Linked DNA regions of Homo sapiens: region 1 is linked to region 2. Evidence: promoter capture Hi-C in human tissues and cell types (Jung and others, 2019). All regions are on one chromosome and are shown on one strand. Each heading gives the region's core, a stretch centred on a gene start or on the middle of the fragment in contact. The rest is flanking DNA. Distances are from core to core; before and after follow the strand shown.

Evidence for each region. Contacts are between HindIII fragments. The study calls those that stand out against the background at their distance.
Region 1: a fragment that was not itself captured here is called in contact with the fragment with the promoter of SYNJ2 in region 2 in 1 of the 25 tissues and cell types used here (spleen).

What each region holds. Positions count from the first base shown.
Region 1 is chr6:157,299,117-157,306,118 of GRCh38, reverse strand. The region is part of intron 3 of TMEM242 (transmembrane protein 242); the gene reads left to right. It also overlaps the pseudogene LDHAL6FP. Among named protein-coding and RNA genes, the nearest start is that of TMEM242, 21 kb to the left of the region's middle. The HindIII fragment of the contact is 4,790 bases long and covers 2,612-7,002 here.
Region 2 is chr6:157,978,365-157,985,404 of GRCh38, reverse strand. It overlaps SYNJ2 (synaptojanin 2), which reads right to left and starts at 3,542. Exons shown (of 27, transcript NM_003898.4): 1 at 3,317-3,542. The coding sequence starts at 3,443. RefSeq lists enhancers at 3,261-3,776, 3,977-4,026, 4,047-4,236, 3,777-4,292, 4,257-4,306 and a silencer at 3,277-3,856. The HindIII fragment of the contact is 15,452 bases long and covers 1-7,040 here.

The DNA.
Region 1 (7,002 bases), core at 3,757-6,256, 680 kb after region 2:
TCTACAAGGGACCTTGCTCCCATCGTTATCCTCAGCCTTAGCTGATTGTGACATGTTCCTTCTCTGCTGTGGTGTGTACAGACATGCTCTAGTTTCTCCCACCTCTAGAGGTTCTCTCTAGATATTCCTTAGCCTCCTCCAGCTACCAGCCCATTTATCTGCTCCCCTTTACACAAAAAGCTTCCCGAAAGAGTTGTCTGTGGTCACTGCCTCCACTTCCTCCCCTTCCTGCTCTCAGTCCAGCTCCTTGCCCCAGCGCTGCACTGGAACTGCTATTAAGGTTGCCAGTGCCCTCCTTGTTGCCAGATCTTACTTTATCCTCTGTTACTTGCCCTCCCAGCAACATTTGGGCACAATGGAGCCCCCCCTCCATCCTGAAACACTGTGGCTTCTGAGCTACCTTCCACCTCACTGGACATTTTGCCTGTCTCTTGTGCCAACCCCTCCCCTGGCCAGCCTCTTAACATCAGTGTCCAGTAGCTCCTACTTAAACTCTTCTGTCCTCCATCTATCCTCCGCCCCTTGGCTCTTTCGTCCAGTCCCTGCCACTTTAAAACAAACAGTACTATCTGATGCCGTCCAGATACATAGCCCCAGCCCTGACCTTCAGATCGGCGTCTCTGCTTCATATTGTGTGCCCTCACAATATGACACGCCCTCATAGGCGTGTCACATGACCCATGTCCCAACTAGAGCACTTGATTTCCTCACTTTATTCCCAACTTGCTCCTCCCTTGGTCTTCCCCATTCCGTAAATGCCACCGTCATCTCATCCTTCCACTTCAAACCAAAAACCCCAGTGAGAATCCTCTTAGATTCTCTCATTTCCCTTGGTTCCCTTCATCTGATGCATGCAAGTCCTGCTTGTCAGCTCTGCCGCTGAACACCGCCTGCCTCCTTCATCTCTCCACATCCATTCCTCTGTTGCCTAGTGTTTTAAGAGTTTCCTGTCCAGTTTCCCGGCCTCTTCCTTATTCCTTCTAGAATTTTTTCTCCACACAGCAGCCAGAGATATTTTAAAAATGTGAGTCAGATCATGCTACTTCCTTATTTAAAACCCTTCAGTGGCTTCCTGTTGAAGAAGGTTTACATGATGTAGCCCCACCAACCTCACTGACCTCATCTTGAGCCACCACAATTGCCCACCTCACCTCTTCCCACTGCACTCCAGCCCTGCCAGCATTCTTATTCCTTCAACACACAGGGCTGTTCCTGCCTAGGGCCTTTACTCTAGCTTTGCCCAGGAAACTCCTTCCCCAGGTCCTTGCATCGCTGGCTGTTTGCTGCTATCCAGGGTTTCAACTCAAACTTAATTTACCTCCTCAGAGCAGCTTCTCCAGATGTCTTCATTCCCACCACCCAGTTACTCTCTGAAATTATCCTATTTTCTTTTCTTTGTAACGCCTATTGCAAAACGAGATGATATTGACCATTGTCTTGTTTTATCAGTCTTCACAAAAAGAATGTAGATTCTGAGGGTAGAGACCTCCTTTATCTTGGTCATTGTTATATCCTCGCACCTGTAACACTGCCTAATGCATTGTAGGTGTTTAGTAAGTATTTATTGAATGCAATCTGATCACATCACTTCTACCATTTCATTTCAGTGGCACTCTCTCTCTCTCTCTTTTTTTTTTTTTTTTTTTTTTTTTTTTTGACAGAGTCTCACTCTGTCACCCAGGCTGGAGTTCAGTGGCACAATCTTGGCTCACTGAAACCTCTGCCTCTTGGGTTCAAGCAATTTTCCTGCCTCAGCCTCCCAAGTAGCTGGACTACAGGCATGCACCACCATGCCCGACTGATTTTTGTATTTTTTGTAGAGACGGGCTTTCACCATGTTGACCAGGCTGGTGTGGAATGCCTGACCTCAAGTGATCCACCTGCCTCGGCCTCCTGAAGTGCTTGGATCACAGGTGCGAGTCACTGCGCCCAGGCTAATGAATTTTAATTTCTTTGCTTTCCATGTTTTATGCCACATTATAAGTTTTCCTTTTTAATGATTAACACAAGTGGCTCTTTTATATTGCATCAGAAATTATGTATAAGATGCTGCTTTCAAAGAACAAAAATGTGATTGGGGTTATTTATTAGAAGAGCTTGCCAATTCATTTCATATTTAAATACCGTAAACAGGAAGTTGATCCCAGCATTGCTCTTTGAATTGACTTTTTGCCTTTATTCTATTCTTTGTGGCCCTCTATTTGTCTTTCCTCCAGTTTTCCCAGTGTTGCTGACAAAGTAAAATATTTTCATGTGCTGGGATTTGCAGAGACCCCCCCCTCCCCCCGCCACCATGAGAATTACTGAGCAATAGAATTAGAGCCCACTAATTTATTTTAAAACTACAATTTGCATTCTATGATTTTTCAAATCACAAAGAAGACTTTCAAAATAATTGTGTTCATGCTGGTGAGTTTATGGCCTATTTCAGATCAGCTTGTAATAATTAACACTGCTTTCATTTTATCCCTTTCCCCTAAACCAAGGGTTCTGTGTGCTGATTATTTTTTTAAAGCTTTCCAAAGAACAGAACATTTTAAATAACTTTAAAGGATAAAAATAGTTTCTCTGCCACTGCATATTTGTTTTACTGCATTTCTAACACTGTAATAGATTTTTGTTTTTGTTTTGTTTTTTAATGTTTTAACTTGGTAAAAGTGGGTATTGGCTTTGAAAATAGCCACAAAATCTTTTAGCTTATCCAAAGCTTTACTTGAAATATATGCATCAACTTTCTAAAGATGCCCCAGTGGGTGCCACCTACCCATTTTACTTACCCTCATTTTCAGAACTCTCTCTAGATGGGGTCTGTGGCCCCGCCTTTCTGTCTCTCTCACCTTTTAGCCCACTCCCCAGCCTTACTCACTCAGCTCTACAGTTCCTCATTCTTTTCTACTACATTTACCAAATCCCTATTCGTGGGCCCAGCTCTGTTCTAGAGGACAGGGATATGCTGGTAAATAAAAGGTGATCCTTCTTGCAGTGGCACATTCGTAAGTATTTTACATTTAACTGTGTGTGATAAATCCTCTAATGGAGAGAGGTACAAAGTACAGTGGTGACATAGGCTTTTAGAAAGCCAGTTCTGCTTAGGGGATTGGCAAAGATTGGTGAGAGAATGGAATATCAGAACTGGACTCCCGGAGAGGAAAAGGAGGATTTGAGAGCTGGGTGTGAGTCCAGGTGAAAGGAATAGTGACTTAGTGGCAGCCATTCTTGGCCCAGGGACTTGCTGGTTGTTTTCATTTCCTGCTTCCTCCCTCCTAAGTGGTACAACCGAAAGTACTGAGGTGTAATCCTGCCATTAGCTATAATACTGTACTGCGTTTTGAATAGATAATTTGAGTCAGGTTTTCAATTCAGAAGGAATAATGAGCCACCTAGGATAGGAAGTCACTAGGGAGCTGTCTAGCTATACTTGGCTTTCCACATCTTTGAGTAGACCTAAATATGCTCTGGAGGTCACATACATCTCTTCGTCTTTGTTAGTGCTTTCCTTTTTTATCTCAAGACTTATTGTAAATAAAAAAGCTGCTTTGTTTGGTATGTTTTTATTTTGAACAGTTTTTTTTCCCCCTCAAGATTGATTTAGTTGTGGCTAAGGGGAAAAACTGAAGAGGCAGCTATTAGAGAGATTGTATTTCTGAAGAGGTTCAAACGATAGAAAGAAAATGACTATAGAAAGTAGCCATCCCGCGAAGAGTCTTTATGTCCTTGAATTTCATGTTCAACAACACTTATCTTGGAAAATGACTTGACTGGTGAAAGGAATCATTATAGGTGGATGGTGGGAACAGTCACCAGGTTAAAACATTTCAAGTTATGACTGAGATAAAAGAAATGACAGCTATCAAAAATTGTTGCTTTTAAAGGATTCCTCTAAAACATTGGCCACCATTAAATAAAGATGACCCTTTTAAAACTGCAGTTTTTAATTTGACAAATGTTAACCAAAAATCTGACCACCAGTGCTAAGAGGATTCATGTACCTAGTCCCCTTACCATTTGGTTTGTGGCTCTGTCATCTGAACGGGGTATCTGATCCTTACTGATAGGGAAAACATGGCCAGGAGGTCACCCTGAAACAGGATGTCAGGAACTCAGCTGATGGCACACCTTTCCCACCCTCACCAACTCCTTTGCTTATTGTTCCTCTCCTCCTGGACTGCCTTTTTTCTTCTTTTGTTGAGACGGAGTCTTGCTCTATCGCCCAGGCTGGAGTGCAGTGTCATGAACTTGGCTCACTGCAACCTCCGCCTCCAGGGTTCAAGCAATTCTCATGCCTCTGCCTCCTGAGTAGCTGGGACCATAGGCACACACCACCACACCCGGCTAATTTTTGTATTTTTAGTAGAAATGGGGTTTCACTGTGTTGGCCAGGCTGGTCTCGAACTTCTGACCTCAAGTGATCCACAAACTCAGCCTCCAAAGTGCTGGGATTACAGGTGTGAGCCACTGCGTCCAGCCCTGGACTGCCTTTCAATGGCACAAATAAGAATAGCTTTTCGGCCAGGCGCGTTGGCTTATGCCTGTAATCCCAACACTTTGGGAGGCCGAGACAGGCAGATCACCTGAGATCAGGAGTTAGAGACCAGCCTGACCAATATGGTGAAACCCTGTCTCTACTAAAAATACAAAAATTAGCCAGGTGTGGTGGCAGGTGCCTGTAATCCCAGCTACTCGGGAGGCTGAGACAGGAGAATGGCTTGAACCTGGGAGGCAGAGGTTGCAGTGAGCTGAGACCATGCCATTGCACCTGGGCAACAGAGCAAGACTCTGTCTCAAAAAAAAAAAAGTAATAGCTTTTCAAGTCCAAATATAAAGTATTCATTTTGTCAGCATTCAATATTCTAAAGCGGAAATCTTTTTTTTGCTGATCATGAGGAGCTACATGTACCAAGGGGCCCCATTCCAGAAGAGCACACTGCTTTTAAATAAAACAAGAGGGAGAGCTTTTGAGGAACCATTACACGGGCAGAATGCTGTTTATAAGTGAGGAGAAAGTGCCATCATTTTTTTTGGAGCTTTTGTAGTTTACTGGGCTTATTAGGGTATGCATTTCATCAGATGTGAAGTTGACACCTCCTCAGAAACTGTAAGGGAATTTAGTTCTTAAGATTGCCCAGAGAAATGCTGAAGAAATAAGGCATACTGATGCCACGTTGTACTAGATCATTTATTTCACTACTTTGGTCAATAATCTGATTTATGCATTGGTTGAAACTTGCCATTTTAAGGACTTTTAAGAGATATCCTCATTTTAATTGAGGACTGCATTGCCAGCTTTCTACCTGAGAAGTCGTTTTTCTTCGGGACGCACAATCAAAGGCTTTCCTCTAGCATGAGAAAGGAATAGCATTCTCGCCTGGTGAATTTTTAGTGATGGGATGACTCCCAGCGGGCCCCTACCCTGCTCAAGCTCCTGCTGACTGTCCCAGTGTGGGTCCTGGCCAGAACTGGCACCAAGGCAGTGGGATCCTTTATAAATAGGCCTCCGGCGCCATACACCAGATAGCAGGAGCCCACTTCTGGGACACTGGGAGATGGTGCAGGCAACCACCCGTATGCAAAGCACAGCGCCCTATCCTTCCCGGCAGGGTCACCGTTCAGAAGATGTAACCTGATTTTCATCCGTAGTTAATAGAAGCATTTTTCCTTGGCATTCATACTAAAAATAGAAAACTAGTAATTCCGGGGATCTGGGTTAACCTCTTAAGCATGTCAACTATCGATGAGAATACTCTTTGTAAAACTAACTCCAGAAATCACTTGCTCGAGAAGCAGCCCTTCACTGCCTTAGTCTCAGCACCAACGGAAAGTACATGTTGAAGGCGCTGGCAAGGCCCGCGCAGCCGCAGTAGAGGGCCAGGGGGCGTGTCTTGCGCACTCGCCACAGAGGGCTGAAGGTGCTGCTAATGGCTCTCTTGGCGTTGCGACGTCCTGGTCAGCAGTTTTCTTCCATTCTCTCCCTCCATTTCTTGAGTGAGCAGCCATGAGTTGGACTGTGTCTGTTGTGCAGGCCAGCCGGAGAGTGAGCTCGGCAGGAGCGAATTTCCTGTCCCTGTGTCCCAGTCAGGCAGCGCGCATGCCGCTCAAGGGCGCCTGGCTCTTCACCCCCGTGAAGAGTGAGCTTGTTGAGCGCTTCACTTCCGAGGAGCCCGCTCATCACAGTAAGGTCTCCATCATAGGAACTGGATCGGTGGGCATGGCCTGCGCTACCAGCATCTTATTAAAAGGCTTGAGTGATGAACTTGCCCTTGTGGATCTTGATGAAGGCAAACTGAAGGGTGAGACAATGGATCTTCAACATGGCAGCCCTTTCATGAAAACGCCAAATATTGTTTGTAGCAAAGATTACCTTGTCACAGCAAACTCCAGCCTAGTGATTATCACAGAAGGTGCACGTCAAGAAAAGGGAGAAACGCGCCTTAATTTAGTCCAGCGAAATGTGGCCATCTTCAAGTTAATGATTTCCGGTATTGTCCAGTACAGCCCCCTCTGCAAGCTGATTATTGTTTCCAATCCAGTGGATAACTTAACTTATGTAGCCTGGAAGTTGAGTGCATTTTCCAAAAACCGTGTTATTGGAAGCGGCTGTAATCTGGATACTGCTCGTTTTTGTTTCTTGTTTGGACAAAAGCTTGGTATCCACTCTGAAAACTGCCACGGATGGATCCTAGGAGAGCATGGAGACTCAAGTGTTCCTGTATGGAGTGGAGTGAACATAGCTGGTGTCGCTTTGAAGAATCTGAACTCTGATACAGGAACTGATAAAGATCCTGAACAATGGAAAAATGTCCACAAGTGATTGCTAGTGCCTATGAGATTATTAAAATGAAAGGTTATACTTCATGGGCCATTGGCCTATCTGTAGCTGATTTAACAGAAAGTATTTTGAAGAATCTTAGGAGAACACATCCAGTTTCCACCATCATTAGGGGTCTCTGTGGAATAGATGAAGAAGTATTCCTCAATATTCCTTGTGTCCTGGGAAAGCTGACC
Region 2 (7,040 bases), core at 2,293-4,792:
TTTGCTCCCACTGATCTACATAAAAGACAGATTCAGATTCACAACCTAATTCTTTTAGAAGCAGGAATTTGGAATAATTCCTTCAACAATCCTGCTAGCAGGCCAGACGGCCCTAGTGTGAAGAGTTCACTTTAGAGCAGGACAGGTGAAGACAGGTGAAGACAGGTTCAGATGGAAGGAGTCCAGCAATCAACGAATCATGGACCATCCGTTTTTCCTAAAAATCACAGCCCAGTTCAAGCCCCTGTCTCCAGGCCTTGCCTGAAAATGATAAGGAACCACCCAGCCCCTTCGGCGAGAGGTACTTTTCCAGTTAGGATCCTTCAGGAATAAAATGTGCTATGAAGGGGCAGCGCCTGTGGTCATCAGGCCCAGTCCCCTCATCTCCTCTCGCCCCTAGGAAAGCAGCTATGTGCATCCGCAGCGGAGCAGGATGGAAGTTAGAATGACTCAGGGGCCGGGAAAGACCACTACCCACGAAGCAGTTACCACAACTTGTCTCTCAGCCTCTCATTACTAACTGGGAGGGACCCATCACAGGAAAACCACAGCTGAAGAGAAAAGGAAGCTACCCCCGACTCGGAACTTCAAGGAAAGGGTGAAAGGTCAAGATTAGACCACCAGCTACGCCAGCTGCCACAAGTGTCCTGTCCCATACAAAAGTAGAGATTGCAGCCTTCTTGTAAAAATTCACCTTCTCGGGTCAGGCATGGTGGCTCACGCCTGTAATCCTAGCACTTTGGGAGGCCAAAGCAGGTGGATCACCTAAGGTCAGGAGTTAGAAACCAGCCTGGCCAAAATGGCACAACCCCGTCTCTACTAAAAATACAAAAATTAGCCAGGCATGGTGGCGTGTGCCTGTAATCCTAGCTACTGGGGAGGCTGAGGCAGGAGAATCACTTGAACCCAGGTGGGGGTGGCGGTGTTGCAGTCAGCCGAGATCGCACCACTTCACTCAGCCCAGGCAACAAGAGTGAAGCTCCATCTCAAAAAAAAGAAAAAAAATAATCACTTTCTCCAAGAAAGGAAAGTAAAACAGCTAGCTAGCCCTTTGGAACACAGATGGGAATTTCAAGTTCAGAGCCATTTTATCCAATAGTGATGCATTTAGGATATGTTGAAAGTTTTAAACAACTTTCTAGTAACATAAGGCTCTCTCCTACAAACATTCTCTGGACCAGCAAAGCCACCAAATGCTACAGCTGCTTTTTAAAAATAGTTTCATTTTACTTAAACAAAACAGACTTTAAAAAATTAAGTTTTCAGGCCAGACGCAGTAAGTAGTTCATGCCTGTAATCCCAACGCTTTGGGAGACCAAGGCGGAAAGATCACCTGAGCCCAGGAGTTCGAGAACAGCATGGGCAACATAGTAAGACCCCATTTAAAGAAAAGAAAAGAAAGAGAAAAAATTAGCCAGGCATGGTGGCATGTGCCTATAGTCCCAGCTACTCAGGAGGCTGAGGCAGGAGGATCGCTTGAGCCTGGGAAGTTGAGGCTGCAGTGGGCTGTGACTGTGCCACTGCATGCCAGCCTAGGCAACAGAAGAAGCCTCTGTTTCAAAAAAAAAAAAAATTTTTTTTTAAAGTTTTCTACTGAAAAATGAATGCTAGGTTAAATGACAAATGTGGACTGCACATGAGTTGAAGACGAGCCAATTCCTTTCTTACATTCTCTGTTCTAAAATCTGGTATACTGTAATCACCACCGTGATGTAAATCTCAGCCCAAACTTCAGCTCCTAATGGAAAATATGCACTACATTACTGTCATTAATCATTTTTAAATCTTCACTTTTGAAAAAATAAAATCTCTTTTTTCTAAGCTGCTTCAAAGAATTCTTGAATGTGTATGAACTTGGCTTAATGTTGCCGTAATCCAACTGAAGGACATCTTAATCTATTTGATGAAACAGTAGTTTTGTACCATGAAATTACTCTTTCGCTTCCGATAAATGTGGTATGAAGTAGACATCTAAAATGGAATGGAAATTTCTGTGGTTTTCTTTCAAGGCCACACCAAATAACCAAACTTAGACTCTTCAGGACAGCACAAATTAGAATAATCTGAAAATAACTTAATCTACAATTCACTGCCTACTTTTGATGCTGAGACTACTGGAGACATTGTTTCAGTAATCAAGTGACTGAGAACAAGCTGGATAAATGCATGTTAATGAAATGATTAGGGAATCAGAAATAGGAGAGATAGTCCTTCCAAGACATACATCCGAACGGGAGTCGATGCATACAAATGTGAAAAGAAGGCTAGAGGCATCTACAAAGCAGCCTGCTGCATTTGCCGACCACCTCAAGTACGAGTGACCCCGGGCTGCACCTTGTTTAGCTAGGAATACCGGCAAGCTGTTACAGCTGGACGCCTAGTGGTGGGAGCTTACTCTCGGGTGTCCACATTTAGAAGTCTAACAATCAGACCTGGTTTCACGTGCTTTGGTGCTACCCAGGTTTTCCTTATAATGGTTAGCACAAAACAAGGGACCCAGGTTAGCGATACCAGGAAGCCACGCATTGAATGACATTACAGAAACAGCCACATAAAAGTCAGGTGGATGGTGTCACCTTGGCAAGCAACTTAGCCTCTTTAGGCCTCAGTTTGCTCATCTGCAAAATGGGGATAATAATAGCTTTTTAGTAGAATTGTGAGAATTAAGTGAGATCACGTACTAAAGCCCATAGCACAATGCCAGTTTCAAGGCTTCTGAAGTCCATAGGTGAAATTCGCTGGCTTGGCAGGATCTAAGACAGCATAAAGGTCATGGTATATTTGTTTACAAGTTCTATAAATTGCAGCACCGATGCTTCTCGACCAAGTATTTACGTGGGACAAAGCTGCCATCAGCGGTTTCTCCAGAGCCTATGTTTTGGGGCTTTTGTCCCCATCCCCTCCAGGAGTGGAGCCGCCAACACAAACCAAAGGGCAATCACTGGTTTCATCAACAGGTGCAAAAGAAAAGGCGCCAGGCACAGGGTCAGGCCGGCTAAGTCAACACCCCGGGATCCTCATGAATACGCAAAGCGCCCCAGCCGGCTATCCAGCAACCATATCCTCTGGCGGCGCGGGCCGGAGATCCCCGTGGAGGGGCGGCCGGCCTCCGTGCGCCACCGGCCCAGCCAGAGTGCTCTCTCGAGTCCCCAGCCCCACTTCATTCAAACAGCCACCCCTCTGCGCGCGACCCCTACGCCCCGGCAGTCCCAGCGCCGCCCGATCCCCTCGGGAAGGGGGGGTACCCGTCTTCCCGAGGCTGGGCGAATGCGGGCGCCCTCTCCTCCGGGCGTCGCTGCCCCCGGCCCGGACTCACCCAGCGTGGCCACCGTGCCGGCCTCGAACAGCAGGCAGTCGTCGCGGCCGCGCGCCTCCAGCAGCACGCTACAGTCCCCCTCGGCCCCCAGGCGCCCCAGCAGCCGCAGCCCTTTGCTCAGGGCCATGAGGGTCGGGCCCACTGCGGGCGGGGGCCGGGGCCACGTCCTCCCGAGGGCGCGCTGCCCGCGACAGCTCCCCGCGCGCCCGCAACTTGCCAGAGTTTCACTTTGCGCCGCCGCTCCCGCCGCGCCAGGCTCCTCCCCGGCCTCCTCCCCTTCCTCCTCCTCCCCACTCGCGCCTCCCCAGCCTGGGGCAGGTGAGGGCGCGCCGCCGCCTCCCGCCCGGCCCCGCGCTCCCCCCAGCGGCCAGGCAGCTGCGCGAGGCCGCGCCCCGGGGCTGAGGCTCCCCGCAGGCGGGCGTGGAGCGGAAGAGCCTCCCGGATGCCACGCATTCCTCGCTGCGGAGGAGGATGCCCCGCGCGGGGCGACCCCGGGAGCCTGGCTGCGATGCCGGCCGCCCGCAGCCTTATATGGGCAGCCCGGCCCGGGAGTCCGCCAGGCTGGACCCGCTGACTGTTCCCGCCGGGGGCGCTGCGCCTCCCTGTGTGGTCGGCTCCTGCGACCCTGGACGAGTCCTTTCGACCCTGCGTGCCTCGGTCTCCCTGCGGGGAAGCGGGGTCATAACTGCGCCTACTTCGGCGCGGAGGCCTGAGTTAATTCGCGGAGGCGCTTAGCGGGTGCGGAGCGCGTGGAGCGGGCTGGAGAAAGGTTACCTTTCACTAGCGTTCTATCCCGGAGGCTGTTGCGGTCACCGACCCCGCCAGGGAGAGGTGTTGGGGGTCAACGGTGCGTTGTCGCGAAGAGACCTGGAGCCGTGATCCCCAGACCACGACCCCCACTTACCACGTGACCCTGACTTCTCTGCGCTCCACCTTCCTCTCCTGTCAGATGGTGACAGCGCCTCTCCCACCGGCTCTGGACACCGGCACGTGTCCGCGCGTGTACGCTGGAGTGTGTGGCCCGGCCTTCTGGCGCGGGGTTCTAGCGCCCAGGCTTGGCCTGTCAGAGCTGCAGGGGAGGTGGGGTGGGTATGGGTGTTTAGGGCTGAGTTGGAGTCACTCTTTGGGGTGGTTTGGCGGCTTAATTCCCTTCGCTTGTGATGGGTACGTGAGGATGGCCCGAGAAGCCTCCATCAGCTGTTTCCATCCTGCCCGCAAACGAACTCAGTTCCTCTCTCACCCCATTCTGCTGTACTGGGCCAAGCTGTTTGTCTCTGGGACTTGTCCTAGAAAGGGCAGAGCCCCCAGAGCCAAGCAGAACACTGCCATGCCCCTGCAGACATTCAGTAATGACCAGACAAGCCATCCTCAGGGGACAACCTCTCAGGTGATGGTTGGGTAATAAATTTGAACAACCCCAGCAGAGATTATCTTGACCCTTAGCCCCTTTCCTTGCCCACAAACTCTGCCCAGGTCAAGCATGATGTGCTCAATATCCCAGGCATGATGCTCATCAGCTGTCCGAGCAGCTTCTTTCTGTGTAGATGGAAACATTACTACCTCATGAAAACAGTGTGCCCATTCAGTGAGGCAGATCAGCCTTTGGCCCACTTTTTGACCTGAAACTCACTTCTTCCAGGAAGCTTTCCTGGAATGCTGAGGTCCCAGATAATAGTGCTTATATAACACCCAGATTTACAGACTTCAGTTCTCACCTACTCATATGTTGCTTGAGAAGTGTTTTTATGTTTTCTCTTAGCCCTGTTTTGCAAATTGAGTGGTAAGGCCTTAGGGAGGGGACCCAGTCTTCCATTTATCTCTCTCTCCTCTTTCCTAACTAGCATCATATAGTCTAAAGTCCTGCACAGTGGCATGCCATACCTATTTTAGAAATTTTCCTGCAGTCAGGACCAGCAGTTGAGCCTCACAGCTTATAGAATCCAAGTCACCATCAACTGTAAAATGAACCACTATTTTATGTACCACTGAGAAAAAAAAAAAAACTTCCAATTAAACTAGAACATGCCACCAATAGTCATCTCTGCCCTGATTTAGACAATGTTAAAATGCACGTCTCAGACTCAAGGAACTACAGTGGCTGTTCCTCCGTCTCTGAGAAATGGCTGGGTGAGCCAAGAGCCTGCTGGGTTTTGGGGCCTCTGCTGTCTGGTTTCAGGTGGGACAGCCCACCTGGGTGGCAGAGGGAGCAGCTTCCTCACATGCGCACTGGCTTGATAGACCAAGGGTACCCAGGCACAGGCACCTTTCGCAGATGGAGCAACTGACCTTGAGGCCTTCAAGGAAAAGGTTGGCTCAGACACCTAAACCCCCAGCGGCGTTTGGGCAAAGGGGTGGGCCCATCTGCGGCAGGAGAGTTGGGCGCTTCCCCTCTCTGAGATGTATAATGCCTGGAGGGTAGGGAATTGGGAAGGGGAGGAGATGGGGAAGGAAGCAAAAGCCAACTCCACCAGCCCCAGAGTAAGCCACAGCAGGAAATGTAGCTCAGCGTGGTGTGGGTGAGGGAGTCAGGAACCCCAACAGGTTATCAGAGGAAACAAAGAGGGGAAGTAGGGGAGACATGCACTGAACGTTTGAGCCACCCTATCCCCACCCCCTGTTGCCCTACCAAATCCATATGTTGAAGCCCTGACCCCCAGTGGAATGGTTTTTAGAGATGGAACCTTTAGGAGCTCGTTAGGGTCAGATGACGTCATGCCAGTGGGGCCCTCTCAATAAGAATGATAGGATTAGTGTCCTTAGAAGAAGAGACAGGCCAGGCGCGGTGGCTCATGCCTGTAATCCCAGCACTTTGGGAAGCCAAGGTGGGTGAATCACTTGAGATCAGGAGTTTGAGACCACCCTGGCCAACATGGCAAAACCCCATCTCTACTAAAAATACAAAAAAATTCACTGGATGTGGTGGTGTGTGCCTGTAATCCCAGCTACTCGGGAGACTGAGGCAGGAGAATCACTTGAACCCGGGAGGCAGAGGTTGCAGTGAGCAGAGATGGAGCCACTGTACTCCAGCCTGGGCAATAGAGCACGACTCTGTCTCAAAGAAGGAAAAACAAAAAAAAAAAAAAAGAAGAGACACAGAGGGAAGGGCCTGAGCATCTGCCGGCCAGGAAGACGGCCCTCAGCAAGAGCCACATCAGCTGGCACCTTGATCTCAGAATTTCTAGCTTCTAGAACTGAGAAATAAATTTCTATTGTTTAAGCCACTGGCCTGTGGTATTTTATTGCGGAAGCCTGTATTATTAGTCTATTTGTGTTACTATAAAGGAATACCTGAGACTGGGTATTTATAAAGAAAATAGATGTCATTGGCTCACGCTTCCACAGGCTGTACAGGAAGCATGGTGCTGGCGTCTGCTTCTGGGGAGGCCTCAGGAGGCTTACAGTCATGGTGGAAGGCAACCAGGAACCAGCATGTCACGTGGTGAGATTAGAGCAGGAGAGCTGGGGGGAGGTGCCGCACTCTTTCAAACACTCAGATCTCCCGTGAACTAACTGAGCAAGAACTCACTTATCATCAAGAAGATGGTACTAAACCATTCATGAGAGGTCCACCCTCATGATGCAATCCTCCCACCAGGCCCCACCTCCAGCACTGGGGATTACATTTCAACAGGAGATTTGGAGTGGACAGACATCTAACCCCTATCAGAGCCCGAGCCGAGTAAGACAGGAGAGGTTTAAAGGAAATACAAATCTGTATTTGGTG